Regions from separate parts of the Homo sapiens genome. Here regions 1 and 3 are each linked to region 2. Evidence: promoter capture Hi-C in 16 types of primary human blood cells and fetal thymus (Javierre and others, 2016). All regions are on one chromosome and are shown on one strand. The core of a region is centred on a gene start or on the middle of the fragment in contact, and the rest is flanking DNA. Distances in the headings are between cores, read along the strand shown.

Region 1 (2,952 bases), core at 421-2,920, 340 kb after region 2:
ACCCCAGAGCCGGTGCTTGTTAACCGGGCAGTTAAGAAAGTCTGAAGCCCCCAGGCCTCCAGATCAGCACAGTCTGGGGGCAGGGTCAGGACTTTGAGATGGCACCCCCAAATTTCCAGGTCATGTCAGATGAGGGGCTGCAGCCAGCAGGCTGAGGAAGAGCAGGTGGGATGCGTGCAATGGGCCACATCGGTAAGGGGATTAGCACAGGGGCTGGCACAGAGCAGGTGCTGAGGAAATGCTAGTGGGCTGTACAGCTAACAAGGGCGCTGCTGAGACCACTACACGGCACCCCAAATACTTTTATTAAAAAGAGAAAAAGGCCAGGTGCAGTGGCTCACACCTGTAATCCCAGCACTTTGGGATGCCGAGGCAGGCGGATCACTTGAGGTTAGCAGTTCGAGACCAGCCTGGCCAACATAGTGAAATCCCGTCTCTATTAAAAATACAAAAATTAGCCAGGTGTGGTGGCACGTGCCTGTAATCCCAGCTACTTGGGAGGCTGAGGCAGGAGAATCTCTTGAGCCCGGGAGGCGGAGGTTGCAGTGAGCCAAGATCACACCACTGTACTCCAGCCTGGGTGACAGAGCGAGACTCCGTCTCAAAAAATAAAAAAAGAGAAAAAAATTACCTGAAAAATACTTCCTTTTAAAGAAAACTAAGGTGATTATGGATACATACATAATAGAAAAACAAGTTCTGGAAGGATAGTATTAGTAAAATATGTAAAATAATAGACACGCACACACAGCAAATAGCTAATTCTTCAAGAGTGCTTTTCATGGGCCGGGCACTAAGTAATTTTTTTTTTTTTTGAGATCATCCAGGCTGGAATGTGGTGGTGCAATCACGGCTCACTGAAGCCTCAACCTCCTGGGCTCAGGCAATCCTCCTGCCTCAGCCTCCTGAGGAGCTGGGACCATAGGCATGCACTACCACACCTGGCTAATTTTTGAAATTATTTGTAGAGACGGGGCCTCACTATGTTGTCCAGGCCGGTCTCAAACTCCTAGGCTCAAGCTCCACTCACCTCAGCCTCCCAAAGTGCTGGGATTACAGGTGTGAGCCATGGCGCCCAGCCGGCACTAATTAATTCAATCCTCACAAGAACCCTATGAAATAGGTACTGACATTATCCCCATTTTACAAATGGAGAAACAAAGGCACATAGATATTATATCAGTCAATAGTGGTCACTTCTGGGGATGGAACAGGATGGGACGGGTAGGACTGGGGAGGCAGCTGGGGAAAATTTCATTTTATCTGTAATGTTTGAAATTTTACAGTGAGAATGTATGCATGAATTATATGAATATAGAAAAAAAATCTTATTTATTTATTTATTTTGAGATGGAGTCTTGCTCTGTCACCCAGGCTGGAGTGTAGTGGCTCGATTTTGGCTCACTGCAACCTCCGCCTCCCAGGTTCAAGTGATTCTCCCGCCTCAGCCTCCCGAGTAGCTGAGATCACAGGCATGAGCCAGCACACCCAGCTAATTTTTTTGGATTTCTAGTAGAGACGGGGTTTCACCATGTGGATCAGGCTGGTCTCGAACTCCTCGTCTCAAGTGATCCACCCGCCTTGGCCTCCCAAAGTGCTAGGATTACAGGCATGATCTACCATGCCCAACTGAAAAAAAAAAATCTTTAAATTAAATGGAATTTAGAGACACTTAGGCAGAAAACTACAGAAAACCTCAAAAACTTTCCATTTTGCTCAAGAGACTGGCTCCCTGTCCTGCAGTAAAAGACATGGGATGGAGAAAGGGGCCACTGGGGGCATCCACAGAGACCCACCTGCAACCGGCTCATCCATGGAAAAGGCCTTGTTCTCCACGAACATGCTCTGACCCTTCTGCTCTTTCAGGATGGTCTCATAGCCCACGCCCCGGGTGGGGTACATGTCCCCCTGGTAGCTTTGCTCTGGGCTGGACTTGGTCACCTGGGAGACCTCGGGGATGACGTAGAAGAGGACGAAGGCCCAGGCATTGGCGGCGAGGGCGATGGCCAGCGTGGGGTCATCCCAGGTGGGACTGTTGTGCTGCTTGTTGCCGTAAGTATACATGACGATCCACACCACCCATATGGCAACGGAGGTGGCTGTGGTGAGGAGCACAAAGACCCCATGCTTACGCCAGCGCTTGTAGCGGCCACACAGGGCGGGCCAGGCCCCCAGGAAGGCACCCAGCAGCAGCAGCATGACGTAGATGAGTGCCATGACAAAGTCCATGTTGGCGATGGCACAGGGGGAGGCCACGGCCCAGCCTGCGCTGCTGTTGCCCTGAGGGCCGCCCTCGCCACTGCCCCGAACCAGGGTGATGATCAGCCACTCTGTATTGATGATGACCTCTACCAGGGTCAGCAGCAGAGCCACAGTGAAGATCACCCAGCCCCGGGGCCCGTGGTTCTTCCGGGCCAGGAAGTTGAGGGCAAAGACGTGAGCCGCCAGACAAGAGAAGCAGATGGCGAACAGAACCCCAAAGAGGAAGCGCCGAGAGGCACAGGTGGAGAAGTCGGGCTTCACCACACAGGCAAACACGAGGCAGAAGAGGCCCAGGGTCCCCAGAAGGAAGAATACCTGGGTCCCCAGCAGGCTCCGTTTCTTGGTGTCCTGCACAAAGGGGAGGCTGGCCACCAGGATGATGGTGAGCACAAACGTGGTGACAATGCCCGCCCCAGCCACGGCCTCCAGGACGATGCCCCACGCCCCAGAGCGGTCACACAGGTTGTAGTACAGGGGGTTGAGGCCTTGGCTGCAGCCGGGTGGGACATGGCCCTGGGCCCAGGCCCCTGGGAACAGGAAGAGAGGCAGTCCCAGGCACATCACCAAGGCTTTGTGGATGGCCATCCTGGCTCCCAGGCCAGGCTCTGGTTGGGTCCCTAGAGACAGAAGGAAAAGGGACAAAATTAGTCCTCCAAGATCAGACTCCAATATACATGGTGCTGCTTCCCC
Region 2 (3,226 bases), core at 680-3,179:
GGCCCTGTGATGTAACAACTATGACCAATCATACGTTACATAGAGAAGATAAACTGCGTGTGTGTTGGGGGCAGCCAGAGGTAACACAGACCTAAGACAGTGAGAATCAATCATTCTAATTGTTCTAATTGCAGAGTCCACCAAACTGTAATTAGAAGTCTCTGTATGCTTTCGCTGCTTCTTACGCCATCCAAGACTATAAAAGTTGTGCAATTTAAAATTCAGTAAAGACCAAAGCGGTTTCCAACTGCTGAGATGAGCAAAACCCAGAGTCAACAGCTGTCAATCACTGTTCATCTGAAGGGCAGCACTGCAGGCAAGTGTGGTAGCCTGGAGATGAACATTATTTCTTTATTTTTGAGACAGAGTTTCGCTCTTTTTGCCCAGGCTGGAGTGCAACGGCTCGATCTCAGCTCACTGCAACGTCCGCCTCCCGGGTTCAAGCGATTCTCCTGCCTCAGCCTCCCGAGTAGCTGGGATTACAGTGCCACCATGCCCGGCTAATTTTGTATTTTTAGTAGAGACAGGGTTTTACCATGTTGGCCAGGCTGGTCTTGAACTCCTGACCTCAGGTGATCTGCCCGCTTCAGCCTCCCAAAGTGCTGGGATTACAGGCGTGAGCCACCGTGCCCAGCCCGGGATTAACATTATAAACAGCATGGCGATTTTGTTTGGCTTGACCACTCTGACAAACACCTTAAAAAGAGAATAAATCTGACTTACATTCTGAGCCACCACAGCAGCACTGTAGTCGCTGCCCCATGGAACTCCCCCATCCTGCTTCCACTATGGTCTGCTCAAGCAGCAGCACTCACTAGTCCCATCTCCAGCAAGCAATGTGCTTTTCTAGAAGCCAGGAACACTTAAGTGAGCAAAAGGTTCTATAAGTCACACTCACGTAGGAAGAGTAGAGTTCCCCGGTCTCTGTAATTTCACCCGCCATTTCCAAAAGTGAGGAAGGGCTGGCAGCAGAGGTTCCTTAGGTGCAAGGACGGCGGCTGCCGCAGCTCCTTAAAACAAAAGAGCAGGCTTCACCTATCTGATGGACTGAGACAGGGGTGGGAGGAGGCTTGCAGACTTCCCCTGCCACCTCTGGTTCTTTTATCACAGACACTTAGGGCCTCAGTATCTGTCACAAGACTCACCCCCGAGGGAGGGGTCACCCTGGATGACAGAAATCTGGACGGTTTCTTCTAACATTTCCCTTGCTGTGCAGGGCACTGCTCTGTGCCCAGCACGGATGTTTTCAATGCTGCTCGGGGTGCAAGTGATTTAAGGGGCCTCTAAAACCACTAAGTCTCACCCACCACAAGAGCCCCCTTTCCACGCTCTGGGGTGGTTATCCTCGTTTAGTTCCAGGAACCAGGAGCTCACTACCACACATGGGAGCCCAAGGAACTGTCTGCCGCCTCTGCCTAGGGCAGGGAGCTGGGGGCTTTCCTACATTGCCCTTCCAACTCCACTCTTGGCACTAAGGCCTCCTTTTTTTAATGGGGCCTCCACTCCCTGGCCCCACCTACTCTCTTAGGGTTCCCCACCCTCAAAGCTCCCTCTTTTCTCAAGAACCCCACTCCCAGCCTCTCCCTCTCTCTCCCTCCTGGAGGAGTCCCGAGTCTAGTGCCGCCCCGCCCCGCCCCAACCTATCCCGACCCGTCTCGTCCTCTCCCGCCCGTCCCGACCCGACCCGACCCAACACCTGCAGCACAGCCAGCTCCCAAGCCGCCGTCTCCCGCCGGTCCGCTGCTGCCGGCGCCAGCTGTCCAGCACCAGCTTCCGCAGCGCGCATGCGCCGGCCCCACAGCCCACCTTTTTCGCGCGCGCTGATTGGGCGCCTCGCGGGGGCGGGACCGGGATTGGGGCCTGGCGGCTGCCGTCAGCATGGCGGAAGTGGGCGGGGCGCGTTCTCACGCGCATGCGGAAGGGGCGGTAGCCGGCCGGGCCTGGGAACGTGGCTGGTTGGAGGAGGTAGATCACCCTTTCTGCGGGGGACGATTTCGTCGGTGGTAGGTGGGTGTGAGCTTGGCAGTACCCGGGTCCGCGTGGTTGGAGGGTCGAAGAGAGTGGTCTAGAACGCCACTCAAAGGGGAGGGCCTAAGACTAAGCCCGCCTTGCCCTGAAGTGGTCGGGGGCGGGGAGGGAGTGGCTAGAGCCCCGTGGGGTGGTCGCCGGGGTAAGAGGTTGGAAGTAGGTTTAAGGCAGGGCTGAAAGTTGATTCTGGGTTGGAATCCCTGGACTGGGGCAAGTAATGGGAGCTCTGGGGATACTTTGGTACTTGGTACTTGGTGCTTGGGTTTGAGGAATCGAAGTTCTGGGGAGTGGACGGAAGGAACCGGCAGAAACGGAGCCCAGGCTTGGCCTCTTGGAGTGGGAGTCAAGGATTGTTTAATTATCCTTAACCAGCCTGGTTCTCTTTCTTGCAAGAATTTTGGAGTCTGTATTCTTTGAAGTGTCTAGACGGAACTAATGACGGAAGTCAACTTAGCCCCAGCAGGAAAGCTGGAGCGCCTACCCAAAGTTGGAGGAAATTCAGGGTCCTGAAGTCTTTGCTCTCCCCATCTGCATGCAGGCTGCTACCATGAGGTTGAATCAGAACACCTTGCTGCTGGGGAAGAAGGTGGTCCTTGTACCCTACACCTCGGAGCATGTGCCCAGGTATCTTTCCCGCTTGACATGGGGTGCGTATCAGCACCCAGAGCTGTGTAAGGTACAGCCCCAGTCTCAGGGCTATTTCCCCTAAGAAGAAACATTGGTTGTGAGAAATAATTATATATGAGGGGGGAAAAAAGGCTGGGTGCCGTGGCTCACGCCTGTAATTCCAGGACTTTGGGAGGCTGTGGCAGGAGGATTGCTTGAGCCCAGCAGTTCGAGACCAGCTTGGGTAACGTAGCGAGACCTTGTCTCTACAAAAAAATACAAAAATTAGCCAGGCATGGTGGTGCACAGCTGCAGTCCCAGCTACTAGGGAGGCTGAGGTGGGAGGATTGCCTGAGCCCAGGAGATGAAGACTGCTGTGAGCTGTGATTGTACCACTGTACTCCAGCCTGGGTGACAGAGCAAGAACCTGTCTCAAAAAAAAACAAAAAAAACAAAAAAACAAAAACAAACAAAAACAAAAAAACGGCCGGGTGCGGTGGCTCACGCCTGTAATCCCAGCACTTTGGGAGGCTGAGGCGGGTGGATCATGAGGTCAGTAGTTCAAGACCAGCCTGGCCAACATGATAAAACG
Region 3 (3,385 bases), core at 132-2,631, 300 kb after region 2:
AGGCCGTAGGGAAGGAGGCCTGTCAGCCCCAGGGACGCCAGCTCAGGCTCACACAGCCCTTGGCTGCTGGCACCTGCTCTATAAGGGTGCTGCCTATGAGCACAGCCCTGTACACCCTAACCCTTTCACCCCAGGAGCCCGGACCACGTGGGCAGCGGGTGACACACACGCTGCTGATGCCCTTGGTTAGGTCCACAGCCAGGCAACCCCAGAGCCCACTGCACTGGATGCTGTGGGGATCTGTGGGCTCCTCCCCCAGAATTAAAGGGGAGGAGCCCACGGTTGGGAGACACAAGACCACGTATAGTGACGGGCTTGCTGAGCCACAGCTGACCTAATGGAGTGCGCAGCCGGGTACTCTGGGGTGCGAAGTGCCCTGCTTCCAAGTGCTGTGCGCAGGCACCACACTGCCCTCCCTGTCCCCACCTGGGACAAGTGTTCTGATGGGAAGGAGAAAAAGAGCTGGTGGGGAAGAGACAGGAGTTCAACGCCCGGGAAGGAGGGTGGTAGTGAGAAGGTTTGGGGGAGCCAGCGGTAGGGGAAGCTCACTGAAGGTAAGACCCAGTCTACCCCAGTCACAATGTTGTCCCCAGGGCCCAGCACAGGCCTGGCACACAGTAGGTGCTCAGGACAGCTTTGTTGTACGAATGAATGAACGACAAATGTGGGCTGGGGGAAAGAGTGGGGAGTAGGTGTGATGAGGCAGGTGTCAGGCTCCAGGCAGGGCAAGGGGAAGTCAGCCCCAGCCACACAGTCAGGGGATGGGGCACGGACTTGCAAAGCAGGGGACAGAGAGTCAAAAATGTTTGAATAGAAAGCCTTTATCTTGTTACTGAGGATGGGTTACAGGAAGCTTAAGACACCAGTAAACTCTGCGTCTGTGATTTTTAGAACATTTACTAGCTGGGAACATGGTACCATATGTTAAGTGCAAAAATGTAGGTTTAAAAGAGAATGAGTGGTATGAGGCCAATTTGTTAAGACATCGCAGATGCATGACTGGGTGTGGTGGCTCACATCTGTAATCCCAGCACTCTGGGCTTGAGCTCAGGAGTTCAAGACCAGGCTGGGCAACATAGTGAAACCCCATCTCTTAAAAAAAAAAATTTAACCATTAGCCAGACGTGGTGGTGAGCACCTGTAGTCCCAGCTATTTGGGAGGCTAAGGCAGGAGGATCACTGGAGCCCCGGGCAGTGGGGGGTCGAGGCTGGAGTGAGCCAAGATCATGCCACTGCACGCCAGCCTGGGTGACAGAGTGAGACTCTGTCTCAAAAAAGAGAAAAAAAAAGAAATCATAGATGCATTTACATAGGCATAGAAAAAAAGACTGGAAGGATATACCTCAGGGGCCAGTGGCTGGTTTTCTCTAGGTGGTGGGGTTTTTAGTTATCATCGATGATGGGGGATTTATTTCCTTCTTTGTGCTTTTGCTCATTTTTCAAACTTCCTACAATAATCACATACATCCTTTTCAAGGGGGGAGGAGGCTCTTTGAGGAGCCAGAGACTTTCTGGGTGAAAGGGCACAAAGGAAACCGAAAGGGGCTCAGAACTGAGACAACCCAGTGGCATCCACGTGGGTGCTGAAGTTTAGGATGGGATTACCAGAAAATGACACACACAAAGCAGATGGGAAAGAGGAAGTGGTTTTCTTCCCATACACCCTGCACAGATCTACTGAGGCTGATTTCTCCGCCAAAAGCCTGGGCGCCACAGGAGGCACTGGGGATATGTGTGAGCAGTGCCCCCCACCAAGCATGCAGCAGCTTATCCTGCAGCTATGGGACAGGATAACCCCATCTCTTCCCACCCCAGTCTCACTGCAGTCTTGGAAGGCTTTGGACAAAGATTCCCCTGAGAATCTTCTGCCTGTGGAATCTTCAACTCTCCGAACAGGGAGGAAGCTTCAGGCTTACACTTGACCTCGGCCAGGGATCTGCAATCTAGAGGACTGGTGGCCACACCTCCACTTGTTCCTCTGTTCCTGTGCTTATTCAATTTGCCTATCAGCTATTTATTGAGCATCTACTTACTGAGTGCCAAGAGTTCCTGTTCTCTCTTTTAATCTGAGCTCAGAGGAGGGCAGCTGGACTAGAGATTGCCTGGAGGCCCCTGGGGTGCCCGTTGCAGCTGGAGATACTGAATAACACATTAATTTGACAAATATTGGTTCTGTACCTCCTTGAAGCACATGCCTGTGGGAAGGCAGATGAGGACACCAGCAATGACAGTCTGGTTCCCAAAAGGCTGTGACAGCAGAGGTATAGCCAGGAGGGGCCCCAAGCCACTCTTTGGAGTCAAAGAAAAGGTCCCAGAGAAAAGAAAGTCTGAGGACCACTGTTGGAGTCCACTGGGAGTGAGCTGGGGAGAGGGGGCAGGGGAGGCCCTCCAGCCCAGAGCAAACCCAGAAGGAGAGGAGAGGCTGAGGTTGAGGCTGTCATTAAAGGAGATACAAGAAGTTGGTTTCCAGGGTGCGCGGATGGGGAGAGGGAGGTGGGTAGAGCCAGATCGTGGAGGGCAGTGACTCCTGTAGATACCTGGACTTTTTATGGTGGGGGAGACCATGCAAGGGTTTATTTTATCTTATAGACACGGGAGCCTTGTTGTGTTGCGCAGGCTGGTCTTGAATTCCTGGGATCAAGCAATCCTCCCATCTCAGCCTCCTGAGTAGCTGGAACTACAGATGCACACCACTGCACCCAGCACACCATGCCAGGGTTTTAAACAGAAGAGGGTCATTGCTTCATGGGGCAACCACCCTTGGCCTGGAAGTGGGAAAGCCTCCTGCTTGGGAGCCACCTCTCACAGCCTGTAACCACCACGCACAAGGATGCCTCCCATGGGACCTGCCCTGTAGGATCACCTAGGATGTGTGGTCTGGGTGTCACATGTCATAGCAATACTGTGGGACGTGGACATAGCTTTGAAGATGAGCGTCTGTGGTCAGGGTCTGACCACCCCAGGTGGGGCAGAGGGGTGTGGGGAGCCAACTCACCTTTGATCCATTTCTGAAACATCCTCCAGGCTAGCAGGGAGGCCCCCACCAACAGAAGCAGCAACAATGCCAGCAGGGAGAGGAGCAGCGGGAGCCTGGAGGAGGCACAGGATGGTAAGGGCGGGGCCAACTTGCCTTCTCCAACTTACTTTTTTATTTTTATTTTTTATTTTTATTTTTTGAGACAGGATCTGGCTCTGTTACCCAGGCTGGAGTGCAGTGGTGATCATGGCTCACTGCAGCCTTGAACCCCTGGGCTCAAGTGATCCTCCTGCCTCAGCCTCCAGCTACAGGCACAGGCCACCACGGCTAATTTTTAAATTTTTCGTAGAGACTCAATCTTGCTATATTGCCCAGGATGGTCTCAGACTCCTGAGCTCAAGCCACCCT

What was found. The method cuts DNA at HindIII sites, captures the fragments that hold promoters and counts their contacts. A CHiCAGO score of 5 or more calls a contact.
Region 1: a fragment that was not itself captured here is called in contact with the fragment with the promoter of NAT9 in region 2 in 1 of 17 cell types (neutrophils); the score reaches 5.3 in neutrophils.
Region 3: a fragment that was not itself captured here is called in contact with the fragment with the promoter of NAT9 in region 2 in 1 of 17 cell types (monocytes); the score reaches 6.5 in monocytes.

Annotation. Positions count from the first base shown.
Region 1 is chr17:74,439,672-74,442,623 of GRCh38, reverse strand. It overlaps GPRC5C (G protein-coupled receptor class C group 5 member C), which reads right to left. Exons shown (of 4, transcript NM_022036.4): 2 at 1,797-2,879. The coding sequence starts at 2,847. Among named protein-coding and RNA genes, the nearest start is that of GPRC5C, 9.1 kb to the right of the region's middle. The HindIII fragment of the contact is 6,158 bases long and covers 1-2,952 here.
Region 2 is chr17:74,775,048-74,778,273 of GRCh38, reverse strand. NAT9 (N-acetyltransferase 9) reads left to right here and starts at 1,929. Exons shown (of 7, transcript NM_015654.5): 1 at 1,929-2,007; 2 at 2,567-2,652. The coding sequence starts at 2,576. SLC38A12 (solute carrier family 38 member 12) reads right to left here and starts at 1,775. Exons shown (of 10, transcript NM_017728.4): 1 at 1,697-1,775; 2 at 899-1,010. The coding sequence starts at 943. RefSeq lists an enhancer at 2,128-2,247. The HindIII fragment of the contact is 5,812 bases long and covers 1-3,226 here.
Region 3 is chr17:74,477,141-74,480,525 of GRCh38, reverse strand. CD300A (CD300a molecule) reads right to left here. Exons shown (of 7, transcript NM_007261.4): 4 at 2,996-3,090. Among named protein-coding and RNA genes, the nearest start is that of CD300A, 12 kb to the right of the region's middle. RefSeq lists enhancers at 1,451-1,500, 1,511-1,590. The HindIII fragment of the contact is 1,051 bases long and covers 856-1,906 here.